Regions from separate parts of the Homo sapiens genome. Here region 2 is linked to region 1. The links are contacts of gene promoters, found by promoter capture Hi-C in blood cells and fetal thymus (Javierre and others, 2016). All regions are on one chromosome and are shown on one strand. Each heading gives the region's core, a stretch centred on a gene start or on the middle of the fragment in contact. The rest is flanking DNA. Distances are from core to core; before and after follow the strand shown. Region 1 holds the start of ACTL10 (actin like 10). Region 2 overlaps CBFA2T2 (CBFA2/RUNX1 partner transcriptional co-repressor 2).

Region 1 (6,058 bases), core at 982-3,481:
TCCCGGGTCCCAAATCCAGCTCCACACCCAATGCCACCCCTGGCCTGCCAAACCTGCAGCCCGCCTTCCTGCCACACTCTGGTGACCAACCTCAGGATGCCCTCTTTTGGGGGCAGATGCAGCAGGACTGAAGTCCCAGCTCACTACAGCCATCAGCCCAGCTTCTGCTGAAGATGCACTTTTGTCACCGCCACCAGGATGAACATCTCCTCCACCTTGCCTGCACCAGGCTGGAGGCTGCAAGAGCTATAACATCACTCCTGCTAATTGTGAGAACTGACTCTTCCCTACCATCCACATGGTTACAATCAGGGTAACCATGTTCTTCCATGGGGCTGCACCTCCTGCCCATACAGTGATTGGCCCAAGCTGGTCCTGTCAGCCCCTCCCCCTAGGACTGTGATTCAGGAGCTGTAAGAGACCATGTTCTCTACTTGAACATGCACAGGCTAAGCCAGCCTTCAGAATAAAAACACAATGCAGGCCAAGCGCAGTGGATCACGCCTGTAAACCCAGCACTTTGGGAGGCTGAGGCAGGCAGATCACGAGGTCAGGAGATCGAGACCATCCTGGCTAACACGGTGAAACCCCGTCTCTACTAAAAATACAAAAAACTAGCCAGGCATCATGGCGGGCGCCTGTAGTCCCAGCTACTCGGGAGACTAAGGCAGGGGAATTGAACCCAGGAGGCAGAGGTTGCAGTGAGCTGAGATCACACCACTGCACTCCAGCCTGGGCAAGAGAGCGAGACTCCATCTCAAAAAACAAACAACACAATGCAGTGCACATCCTGGGTTCCCCACAGCCCCGCAGTCAGATTCTGTTCCTGAAACCTGATTTCACCCTTGCTCTTGATATCCATAACATGTAAGATCCTTTCAATAAAGTCCTTATTTTGGGTTACATTCACCTGAGTCTTCTACCTGCAACCAAACTGGTCCTCAGGAGGATGAGGCTTTGCAGAGACAAGAAGTGACCTCTTTCCTGTGTGGGGGGATTATTACTACCTTTTGGAGGAGAAAACCGAACCCAGAGAAAGATCAAGACTTGCTTAGGACTGCACAGTGAGTCAGCTTCAGAACTGAGTCTTGCTGGGTGCGGTGGCTCACACCTGTAATCCTAGCACTTTGGGAGTCCAAGGCAGGTGGATCACCTGAGGTCAGGAGTTCGAGACCAGCCTGGCCAACGTGGCGAAACCCTGTCTCCACTAAAAATACAAAAATTAGCCGCGTATGGTGGTGCATGCCTGTAGTCCCAGCTACTCAGGAGGCTGAGGCAGGAGAATCACTTGAACTCGGAAGGCAGAGGTTGCACTGAGCTGAGATTGCAACGCTGCACGCCCAGCCTGGGTGACCGAGACTCCGTCTCAAAAATAATAATAATAAAAAAAAGAACTGAGTCTCAAACTGAGGCCCACGTGAATCCATCCGTGGAAGCCCATAAAGGTAGGGCCAGAGCCTCTCGGGGGCTCTTCAGGGAAGCTGCAGATCTGTGATGAAAAAGCTTTTTCTTCAGCACTGGGAGGGGTAGGGGGCCACACATCTGGACAGAGTACATCAGATAATTCTAAGTGGTTTGGGAAAGGAATCAGACTGTGCTGGGCTGCTGAAGCCAGACCCCTGGATGCCAAAATCACTGCCCTTGGCTCTGTCCAGAAGAGAGGATGGGTCCAGGGAGTTGTCATAAGGTAGGGAGCTGCGAAGTGCAGCTGCTGGGGAGTGAGGTCACAATGAGCCCAATCCAAGTTCTTTTCTGCCTTCTGACCAGCCCCTCCCCTCTCCACAACCAGGAACTTCCGTCAAGCCCAGGTGAGAGGTGCCAGGAGGCTGCCTGGGTCCTCAAGGGGGATATATGTCCAAATGGCCTTACCACAAGGCCCCTTCGCCCTCAAAGTTCTGCTCCTCCCGGGGGCTTCTTAGGATCTAAAAGGATCAGTCCTAGCCATCTCGTCAGCCATCTCAGCAAGGGCTGACGGGGCGGAACAGCAAAGCAGAGGCGGGTCCTGAGAGCGTGGAGCCTGAAGCCCGGCGCCAGAGGGAGACCAAGAGGGTGAGATGCGGCTGGAACCCAGCCAGAGCGGAGACTGAAGCCTGAACTAGGGGCCGGGCCTCAGGCCTAGGAACTAGCCACGAGCTGAAAAGGAGGCGGATGGCCCGGACAGAAGAGGCGGGGCTTTCAGACCAGAGGGCGGAGCCAAGAGCTGAAAAGGGTGGTGATTTGGTCCAGAAGAGGAAGAACTTAGGCTCCGGAGGCAGAGCCAAAGGCTGAAGGGGACTACTCCCTAGGACAGAGGCCGGGAGGTATCGGGCCGACGAAGCCGAGTGGCGCGGAGGAGCGGAGCCTTCAGCCCCGCGGCTGGGCCGAGCCCGAAGGTGGCGTCGGTGTCGGGGAGCCGCCGCGTGCACCGGCCGTCCTCCCTGGGCCGCATCGCGGTGGTGGTGGACCAGGGCTCGGGCTTCACCAAGGCGGGCTTCGCGGGCGAGAACCAGCCGCGCATAGTGCTGAAGAGCTCTAGCTTGGTGCCCAGCTGGGACCGGCCGGTGCTGCCCGGAGCGCCGGGCTGCGAGCTGGCGGGCGGCGTGGCGCGGGCGCACCCCATCAAGCACGGCGTGGTGGCGGACTGGGAGGCGCTGGAAGGGCTGTGGGAGCGCCTGCTGGTGGGCGGCCTGCGGGTGTGCCCAGAGCAGTGGCCCGTGCTGGTGAGCGACTCGCCGTTGGCGCCGCCCGCGGGCCGCGAAAGGGTGGCGGAGCTGCTGTTCGAGACCCTGGCAGTGCCCGCGTGCCACATGGCTAGCACCGCGTTGCTGGCGCTCTGCTCCACCGGCGCGTTCAGCGGGCTGGCCGTGGAGGCGGGCGCGGGCGTGTGCCACGCCACGCCCATCTACGCGGGTCACTCGTGGCACCAGGCCACCTTCCGACTGAACGTGGCAGGCAGCACCCTGTCGCGCTACCTGCGGGATCTGCTGGTGGCGGCGAACCCTGACCTCTTGCAGCAGGCCCTGCCCCGCAAGGCCATCACACATCTCAAGAAGCGCAGCTGCTACGTGTCCCTGGACTTCGAGGGCGACCTCCGCGACCCCGCCCGCCACCATCCGGCCAGTTTCAGCGTGGGTAACGGGTGCTGCGTCTGCCTCAGCAGTGAGCGCTTCCGCTGCCCCGAACCCATCTTCCAGCCGGGCCTGCTGGGCCAGGCTGAGCAGGGGCTGCCCGCGCTGGCCTTCCGGGCGCTGCAGAAGATGCCCAAAACGCTGCGGACACGCCTGGCAGACACCGTGGTGCTAGCCGGCGGCTCCACACTGTTTCCTGGCTTCGCCGAGCGCCTGGACAAGGAGCTGGAGGCGCAGTGCCGGCGGCACGGCTACGCGGCCCTGCGGCCCCACCTGGTGGCCAAGCATGGGCGTGGCATGGCTGTGTGGACCGGCGGCTCCATGGTGGCCTCCCTGCACTCCTTCCAGCGCCGCTGGATAACTCGGGCCATGTACCAGGAGTGTGGCTCCAGGCTGCTGTACGATGTGTTCAACTGAGTCAGGCTGGACTGGGGGGGGTGGCACTGCGTTGGGGGACAGCTCTCTATCTAAAGAGTCAAGTGTTTGGAGCTGGCAGGGTCCTCCTGGAGGTTGGAGCTGACTGGATGGGTCACCCCCATACCCTTTCTGGGCCAGGAGAAGGTATTTGGGACCCATGGGACCCTCATTTTGAACTGCAGTTTGAATCTCCCCAACCACTGCCAGTTCAGAGAATGCCAGTCCAGCTGCCTACCCACAGGGCCCTACTTTATGGCAATAAAGGTGATGCCCCACTTGTGTCCATGCCACAGATATGGGAGTTCCTCCAAACCCTCGTCATGTACCATTTGGACATACATCCGATGCCAGGCCCCAAGGGGCGATCCCTTGAAAAGCTACTAAATCTCATGTGAAAGTCACCAGGAGGAGGAGCCCTGTGCCTAGCCATGTGCTCAGGTCATTGTTGACTATGAGTGCCTCAGTTTCCCCTTCTGTAAAAAGTGGGGTCAGGCACAATCCCGGGCCTGCTCACTGCTCCCTCCCCCTTACAAGAGCTATGGAGCAAAGGGAGGTGGAGATATTTCTTGAACACACAAAGGGAAGGGCAGCTTATTTTTTGGAAGTCACCACTCAAGGGCCTCAAGCCCTGGCTATCAGCACTGTTCGAGCTTGTGTATACACGTGTCCACACAAACGCGTGGGTGTTCACGTACCTGCCTACTCACGTATGTCCTCGGGCCAGGCCCTGCCCTGTGAACCTGTGAGCACAGCCTTCCACGCCTAGCCCAGCCCTGAATGATATCCCACCACAGTTGTGATGGGCCAGCAACTAAAGCAACAGCAGCCCCTAGTATGAAGCACCCAGTGTATGCCAGACATTATTCTGGGTGCTGGAAACAGAATAAAACAGACAAAAATCCCTGCCTTCGTTCTCACTGGTCACAGTGATGTATGAAGGGCAGCTCTATTGTTATGATGGTTTACAGATGAGGAAACAGGCCCAGAGAGGTCAAGGGGCACAGCTACAAAGTGGGAGCCAGGATTTGAACCCAAGCCCCTAGCTCTATAACCCTGAGTCAAGACTGTGGAGGATCCCACAGCACAGCAGATGCCCACTGCCTCACAGTGGATCCCCCACCATCAGCCACTCCACTCACCAGCTTGGTGGCATCCATGGCAGCGAGCACTGCACGGTTCAGCGATTCCAATGCAGCCAGCACCGGCCGGTAGACACCCAGGTGCTCTGAGAAGTAGTCTGCAGGCAGAAGAGGTGCTCAAGGGTTCCTGGACCCCCACCCATCTACCCACCCTGGGATTCTGGCCCCCTGGAATTCCTCAGCAGCCAAGCAGGCCTTATATCCTGAGCCCAGCCCAACCTGTCCCATCAGGAGACCAGCAACAGTCCCTTGCCACACGTACCCTGGGGCCCAGGGGCCACAGGAGAAAAGAGCTCCCATGGGCCTACTCACCACACAGTTTTTCTGTTTCTAAATTGCTGCAGGGAAAAGAGAAGGCGCCCTTCAGACCTGGGCCTGGTAAACTGGGACTAATGGGGCCAATGCCCCACATCCCACCCCACCAACTCCCAGCTTAGCCTAACAAGGCCACTTCTGCTCCACCCCAGATTAAGTTGCTCCTGTGGACAGAGTCCTTGCAGGGTTGGAGAATGGGTTCTACTGCCCCCACCAATCACTCTAAGGGCAAAGATTCAGACCCATTCTTGGCTACCAAGAGGATCTCAGGCCAGGGGAAGATGGATGTGGACACAGGCCAGTGAGAAGTGGTCAGAGCTGCGAAGGGGAAGCCAGGTGCAAGGCAATGAAGTCCAGGGACGGCATGGGGTATTTAGTTGTAGGTTAGGGAGGGTTTCCTAGAGGAAGAGCTGCCTAAGTGAGGCCCTGAAGGACAAGGAACTGGGTGGGGAGTCTGGCCAGGAGGGGAGGGGAAGCACTGCAGATGAAGGTTCCAGCCCAAGTCTCAGGAGCCTGAGACTGACCCTCAGGAAAGGGGAGAAGGGAAGTAGAGGGAGTAACAGCGGTTCATGCGTGTGCACCCCTGGGAGCAGGCACGGGAAGGAGCGTGCACACTCCTGCCAAGACGCGTAGATGTGGGAGCACACAAGGGGTAGATGGTTGCGTGTTTATGCACTGCATTCTCGGGTGGAAGCAGGCGGGGCCCAGCTGTCCCCAGGCATCCTCTGGTCCCTGTGGGAAGCGGGAATGGGGAGCTGAGCCATGGGTGGTGACTCAGACTTGGCTATTTTGGGGTCCCAGCTGGAAGCAGTGTAGTGGGCAAGGCTGTAGCTGGAGAGGGGGTAGGCAGGCGGGTAAAGTTGGAACTGAGCCCTGGTACCTTTCTCCCTGCCCCCTCTTCCTCATCCTACAAAAGGAACCAAGGCAGCAGGGGACACAGTGGGGTAAAGACAACCTGGCCTCGCATCTACCCACGGCCCCCTCTCATACTCACTCGGTGAGATGCCCATCAATGCCGCTGAACAGTTCCTGCAGCTCCCCCAGGCTGAGAACCCCATCGGCAAAGTAATTCTGGAATTC
Region 2 (5,862 bases), core at 1,755-4,254, 170 kb before region 1:
TTACAGGCATGAGTAACTGCACCTGGCCTTGATTGAAGTTTTTAACTGGCATGCTGGGAAAGAGAATATAGGAGTTCAGTCTTAAAATCGGTGCTTCAACCCCTGAGCCAGAGTCCTTGGGGAAGTAGTCTAGAACTGTGGCCTCACATGTTTGTTTTTTCTTTTTTTAAAACTGAGGTGGGGTCTTGCTCTGTTGCCCAGGTTCTGCTGCCCAGTGAGCATAGCTTCTGCAGCCTCTTATCTCTGGGGCTCAAGTCAGCCTCCCACCTCAGCCTCCCTAGTAGCTGTGACTACAGGCATGTATTGCCATGCCTGGCTAATTGTTTAAAAAGTTTTGTAGACATGGGGTTTCACTGTGTTTCTCAGGCTGGTCTTGAACTGCTGGGCTGCAGCGATCCTCCTGCCTCAGCTTCCCGGTATTGGGAGTAGAGGCATGAGCCACCATACCTGGCCACCTAAAATGTTTTTAGTGTTCATTCCATCAGTAAATAGGGTTGAGTATGCACACACATTCTATGAATGTTTTATTTTTTGTTTTTTTATGGTTTTTTTTGAGACGAAGTTTTGCTCTTGTTGCCCCAGCTGGAGTGCAGTGGTGCGATCTCGGCTCACTGCATCGTCCATCTCCTGAATTCAAGTGATTGTCCTGCCTCAGCCTCCCAAGTACTGGGATTTCAGGTGTATGGCACCACCCCTGGTAATTTTGTGTTTTCAGCAGTGATAGGGTTTCACCATGTTGGTCAGGCTGGTCTCAAACTCCTGACCTAAAGTGATCCACCCGCCTTGGCATCCCAAAATGTTAGGATTACAGGCGTGAGCTACCGCGCCTGGCCTGAATGTTTGTTTTAAATGGCGATTATAGTGTGACTGTACTATGTATTAGGCATATATATGTGTATATATATATATATATATATATATATATATTTTTTTTTTTTTTTTTTTTTTTTTTGAGACAGAGTCTCGCTCTGTTGCCCAGGCTGGAGTGCAGTGGCACGATCTCAGCTCACTGCAAGCTCCACCTCCTGGGTTCACGCCATTCTCCTGCCTCAGCCTCCCGAGTAGCTGGGACTACAGGTGCCCGCCGCCACGCCTGGCTAATTTTTTGTATTTTTGGTAGAGGCGGGGTTTCACCCTGTTAGCCAGGATGGTCTCGATCTGCTGACCTCGTGATCCGCCCGCCTCGGCCTCCCAAAGTGCTGGGATTACAGGCATGAGCCACCGCGCCCGGCCACTGTATTAGGTGTATTGTTTTGTTTTATTTTGTTTTGAGATGGAGTTTTGCTCTTGTTGCCCAGGCTGGAGTGCAATGGCGATCTTGGCTCACCACAACCTCCGCCTCCCAGGTTCAAGCGATTCTCCTGCCTCAGCCTTCCAAATAGCTGGGATTACAGGCATGCACCACCACACCCAGCTAATTTTGTATTTTTAGTGGAGATGGGGTTTCACCATGTTGGTCAGGCTGGTCTCAAACTCCTGACCTCAGGTGATCCGCCCGTCTCAGCCTCCCAAAGTGTTGGGATTACAGGCATGAGCCACCACGCCTGTCCTAGGTATGTTTTATAACATACAAAAATAGACATTTTACAGAAGGATAAGGTAAAATAAATGGAAGTAGCAGTTCCAACGTTGTCTTTCTACACCCAGTGGTGAATTTTAACAATACCTCCTGGGGTGGAGATCATTGATCTTGTAGTAGTACCTTCTCAATCCATTAGGTCTATTGCTCTGATGAAATCTAGTTTATTCGGTAGAAGTAAAATGTAATGGCTGGGTATGGTGGCTCGCGCCTGTAATCCCACCATTTGGAAGGTCGAGGTGGGCGGATCATCTGAGGTCAGGAGTTTTGAGACCAGCATGGCCAACATGGTGAAACCCCATCTCTACTAAAAATACAAAAAGAAGCTGGCTGTGGTAGCGGGGGCCTGTAGTACCAGCTGAGGCAGGAGAATTGCTTGAAGCCAGGAGGCAGAGGTGGCCGTGAGCTGAGATCCCACCATTGCACTCCAGCCTGGGCAACAAGAGGGAAACTCTATCTCAAAAAAAAAAAAAAAAAAAGGCCGGGCACGATGGCTCATCCCTGTAATCCCAGCACTTTGGGAGGCTGAGGTGGGCGGATCACGAGGTCAGGAGTTCAAGACCAGCCTGGCCAACATTGTGAAACCCCGTCCCTACCAAAAAACGTACAAAAAAAATCAGCTGGGCGTGGTGGCGGGTTCCTGTAGTCCCAGCTACTTGGGAGGCTGAGGCAGGAGAATTGCTTGAAAGAAACTGCGGAGGTTGCAGTGTGCTGAGATCGTGCCACTGCACTCCAGCCTGGGCAACACAGCAAGACTCTGTCTCAAAAAAAGAAAAAAATGTAATGGTTAAGATTTAAATTCTAAAGTTTTGAAATTTAATTCTGGAGTTGTGCTGAGGTTAAAATCCTGGGAACCAATCCTAACAAGTTTTGAGACTTCAGGCTCATTACTTAACCTTCTTGTGCAGTTCATTTTCCTCATCTGAAAAATGGAGATAAAATTTCTACCCCATTTGCAGGTTTATTATGATGGTTAATATATGTTAATATATGTAAAGTACTTAAAACCGTGCTTGACACATTCTGTTCTGGTGGTTGTTAGTGGCTGAGGGTATACCATCTGACTTAGGGTCTCAGTCTAGGAGGGGCCGTGCACAAGTCAACAGGTAATGATAAAGTGTTTTAAGTGCTTTAAGCGTAAGGCTTTTGGGAAGGCAGGGGAGACATAACTAATTATTCCTTGAGATTCCAGGTAAGGTCCAGCTAAAGGGGTGACATTAAACCAGGCTTTAAAGGAGAAGGGAGGCTTTTCCCAGGAGAAGGAAGGGTGAAGTCTACTGGCTGAAGGTAGTTGAGGGCTTGGTGAGTAGTTTATCAGATCTGGACCTACAGGGAACCTGATTGAAGCTTATATACCTTGTTAATAGTGAATTCTGGCTGGAGTTGTTCCTGGCAGGGGCCAGATGGCAAAGAAGCCTGTTACAGAACTTTTCACACCACCACAGCCCTTTCCTTCTCTCTCTGGCACATACCTCATTCTGCCTTCTTAGTTATCTAAGAATATAAGCTTCTAAATTATAAACTCCTTGAGGGTTTTGACAATGTTTGCATTTTTGTAATTTTATTTTGCCTAGCAAGGTAAGTAGGAAGTTCATTAGTGTCGAGAAAGGTATATAATCATTGGACCTTCAAGGAAGTCTAAACAGTTAAAAGTGGAATGGTAAATGACCATATTTACTAGTGAAAAACTTGGTTACAAATGTTTTGTAGTAGATAGGACCTGTGCATTACTATTTAAAAGGGGTAAGAATGATCATCTTCAGTATCCCTTTCCTTATCTGGCACTTATCCATTGGGATTACAGAAGAGATCGGAAAGTGCATCAGAAAGGCTTGTCTGACGTTGAATAGGTACCTTTTGTTTGCTCTTCTAGGTCTGCTTTCCATCCTTTTTCACCCTATCCTGTGCCCTGGGAAGCTGACTTACCTATATGGACTACATCAATGAGCTTCCTTCCCCTTTGAGGTTATGAAATTTATTTTCCTACTCCCGTCTCATGGGTTGTGCCCTTAGCTGACTCTGTCCCTTGACTGAAGGTCACTGCTTCTCTAAATGTGGTCCTCTCGGCCGGGTGCGGTGGCTCATGCCTGTAATCCCAGTACTTTGGGAGGCTGAGGCCGGCAGATCACCTGAGGTCGGGAGTTTGAGACCAGCCTGACCAAAATGGAGAAACCATGTCTCTACTAAAAATACAAAATTAGCTGGGCATGGTGGTGCATGCCTGTAGTTCCAGCTACTCAGGAGGCTGAGGCAGGAGAATTGCTTGAACCCGGGAGGCGGAGGTTATGGTGAGCAGAGATCACGCCATTGCACTCCAGCCTGGGTGACAAGAGCGAAACCCTGTCTCCAAAAAAAAAAAAAAAAAAAAAAAAGAATGTGGTCCTTTCTGTGTGACATCCTCCATGTAGGTTTGGAAAGTTTTTGTTCCCTTTGGTTGTTGGGCCTAGAGATCTAGAGATGCTCTCATTAGTCCCAGGGTATTACAGCTATCCCTTGTGCCTATCTTGTACCCTGCTCACATATTTCTTTCTAGTTCCATTATTAAACCCTCCTTGAATTAACCTTACTGGAGTATGCCATGTTTCCTGCTGGGACCATGACTGTGTTTGAAGCTTGTATACTTTTTTTTTTTTTTTTTTTTTGAGAAGGGGTCTCACTCTGTCGCTAGGCTACAGTGCGGTAGTGTGATCTGGGCTCACTACAATCTCTGCCTCCCGGGTTCCAGCGATTCTCCTGCCTCCGCCTCCCGAGTAGCAGGGACTACAGGCACACGCCACCACGCCCAGCTAATTTTTGTATTTTTAGTAGAGATGGGGTTTCACCATGTTGGCCAGGCTAGTCTCGATCACTTGACCTCGTGATCTGCCCGCCTTGGCCTCCCAAAGTGCTGGGATTACAGGCGTGAGCCACCACACCCAGCTTATTTTTATTTTTTTTATAGAGACAGGATGTTTCTATGTTTCCCATGCTGGTCTCTAATTACTGGGTTCCAATGATTCTCCTGCCTTGGACTCCCAAAATGCTAGGATTGCAGATGTGAGCCATTGAGTCCAGCCCTTCTTTGACTTTTGAGTAAGTTTATCCTAGTTTGGAACCAGTTAGTTTTCTTTTTATCTTACTGTATTTTTAAAATTTTTGTTTGTTAATTTTGAAACCAGGTTATGAGACCAACTTTTGTATTTTTGGTAGAGACAGGGTTTCTTCATGTTGCCCAGGCTGGTCTAGAACTCCTAGGCTCAAGTGATCCACCTGCCTTGGCCTCCCAACGTGCTGGCATTAACAGGCATGAACCACTGTGCCTGGCCCAGTTAATTTTCTTTCTTTTTTTTTTTTTTTTGAGATGGAGTTTCCCTTTTGTTGCCCAGGCTGGAGTGCAGTGGCACTGGAGTGCAGTTGCTCACTGCAACCTCCGCCTCCCAGGGTCAAGCCATTGTCCTGCCTCAGCTTCCCAAGTCGCTGGGTTTACAGGCATGCGCCACCACACCTGGCTAATTTTTGTATTTTTAGTGGAGATGGGGGTTTCATCATGTTGGCCAGGCTGGTCTCGAACTCCTGACCTCAGGTCATCTGCCCACCTCGGCCTCCCAAAGTGCTGGGATTATAGGCGTGAGCTACCGCGCCCAACCTGACCTAGTTTTCTTATATACAGAATCAAAAAATCAGCAGAGAGGTTGGGCGTGATGGTGGTGCCACTCAGCTGTAGTCCCAGTTACTCGGAAGGCTGAGGTAGGAGGATCGCTTGAGCCCAGGTGTTGGAAGCTGCAGTGATAGTGCCACTGCACTCCAGCCTGGGTGACAGAGAGACCCTGTCTCAAAATAATAAAAAATAATAATGGCCAGGCACAGTGGCTCATACCTGTAACCCCAGCACTTTGGGAGGCCGAGGCGGGCGGATCACCTGAGGTCAGGAGTTCGAGACCAGCCTGGCCAACATGGCAAAACCCCGTCTCTTCTAAAAATACAAAAATTAGCCAGGTATGGTGGTGGGTGCCTATCATCTCAGCTACTCAGGAGGCTGAGGCAGGAGAATTGCTTGAACCCAGGGGGCGGAAGGTTGCAGTGAGCTGAGATCACGCTGCTTCATTCCAGCCTGGGCGAAAGAGTGAAACTCCGTCTAAAAAGAAAAAAAAAAAAAATAAGCAGAGAGATTGAGTTTAAGCTTGTTCTCAAGTGTTAAATGTTGTATAGGTTATGTGAATCCAGAGTTTTAGGCAGGAAGAATGGTTTAAATGATAGTGCTTAATGAATGATTGCAGCCCTGGGATCAAAATGAGTTAATTCAC

The links. The method cuts DNA at HindIII sites, captures the fragments that hold promoters and counts their contacts. A CHiCAGO score of 5 or more calls a contact.
Region 2: a contact is called between a fragment that was not itself captured here and the fragment with the promoter of ACTL10 in region 1, in 5 of 17 cell types (neutrophils, naive B cells, total B cells and 2 more). The highest score is 6.4, in neutrophils.

Annotation. Positions count from the first base shown.
Region 1 is chr20:33,664,712-33,670,769 of GRCh38, forward strand. ACTL10 (actin like 10) reads left to right here and starts at 2,232. Exons shown (of 1, transcript NM_001024675.2): 1 at 2,232-3,814. The coding sequence starts at 2,787. The coding sequence ends at 3,524. NECAB3 (N-terminal EF-hand calcium binding protein 3) reads right to left here. Exons shown (of 12, transcript NM_031232.4): 3 at 5,973-6,058; 4 at 4,976-5,001; 5 at 4,664-4,761. RefSeq lists enhancers at 1-74, 1,925-2,144, 2,955-3,034 and a silencer at 2,275-2,604. The HindIII fragment of the contact is 8,805 bases long and covers 1,502-6,058 here.
Region 2 is chr20:33,493,348-33,499,209 of GRCh38, forward strand. All of the region lies in intron 1 of CBFA2T2 (CBFA2/RUNX1 partner transcriptional co-repressor 2), which reads left to right. Among named protein-coding and RNA genes, the nearest start is that of CBFA2T2, 6.2 kb to the left of the region's middle. The HindIII fragment of the contact is 160 bases long and covers 2,925-3,084 here.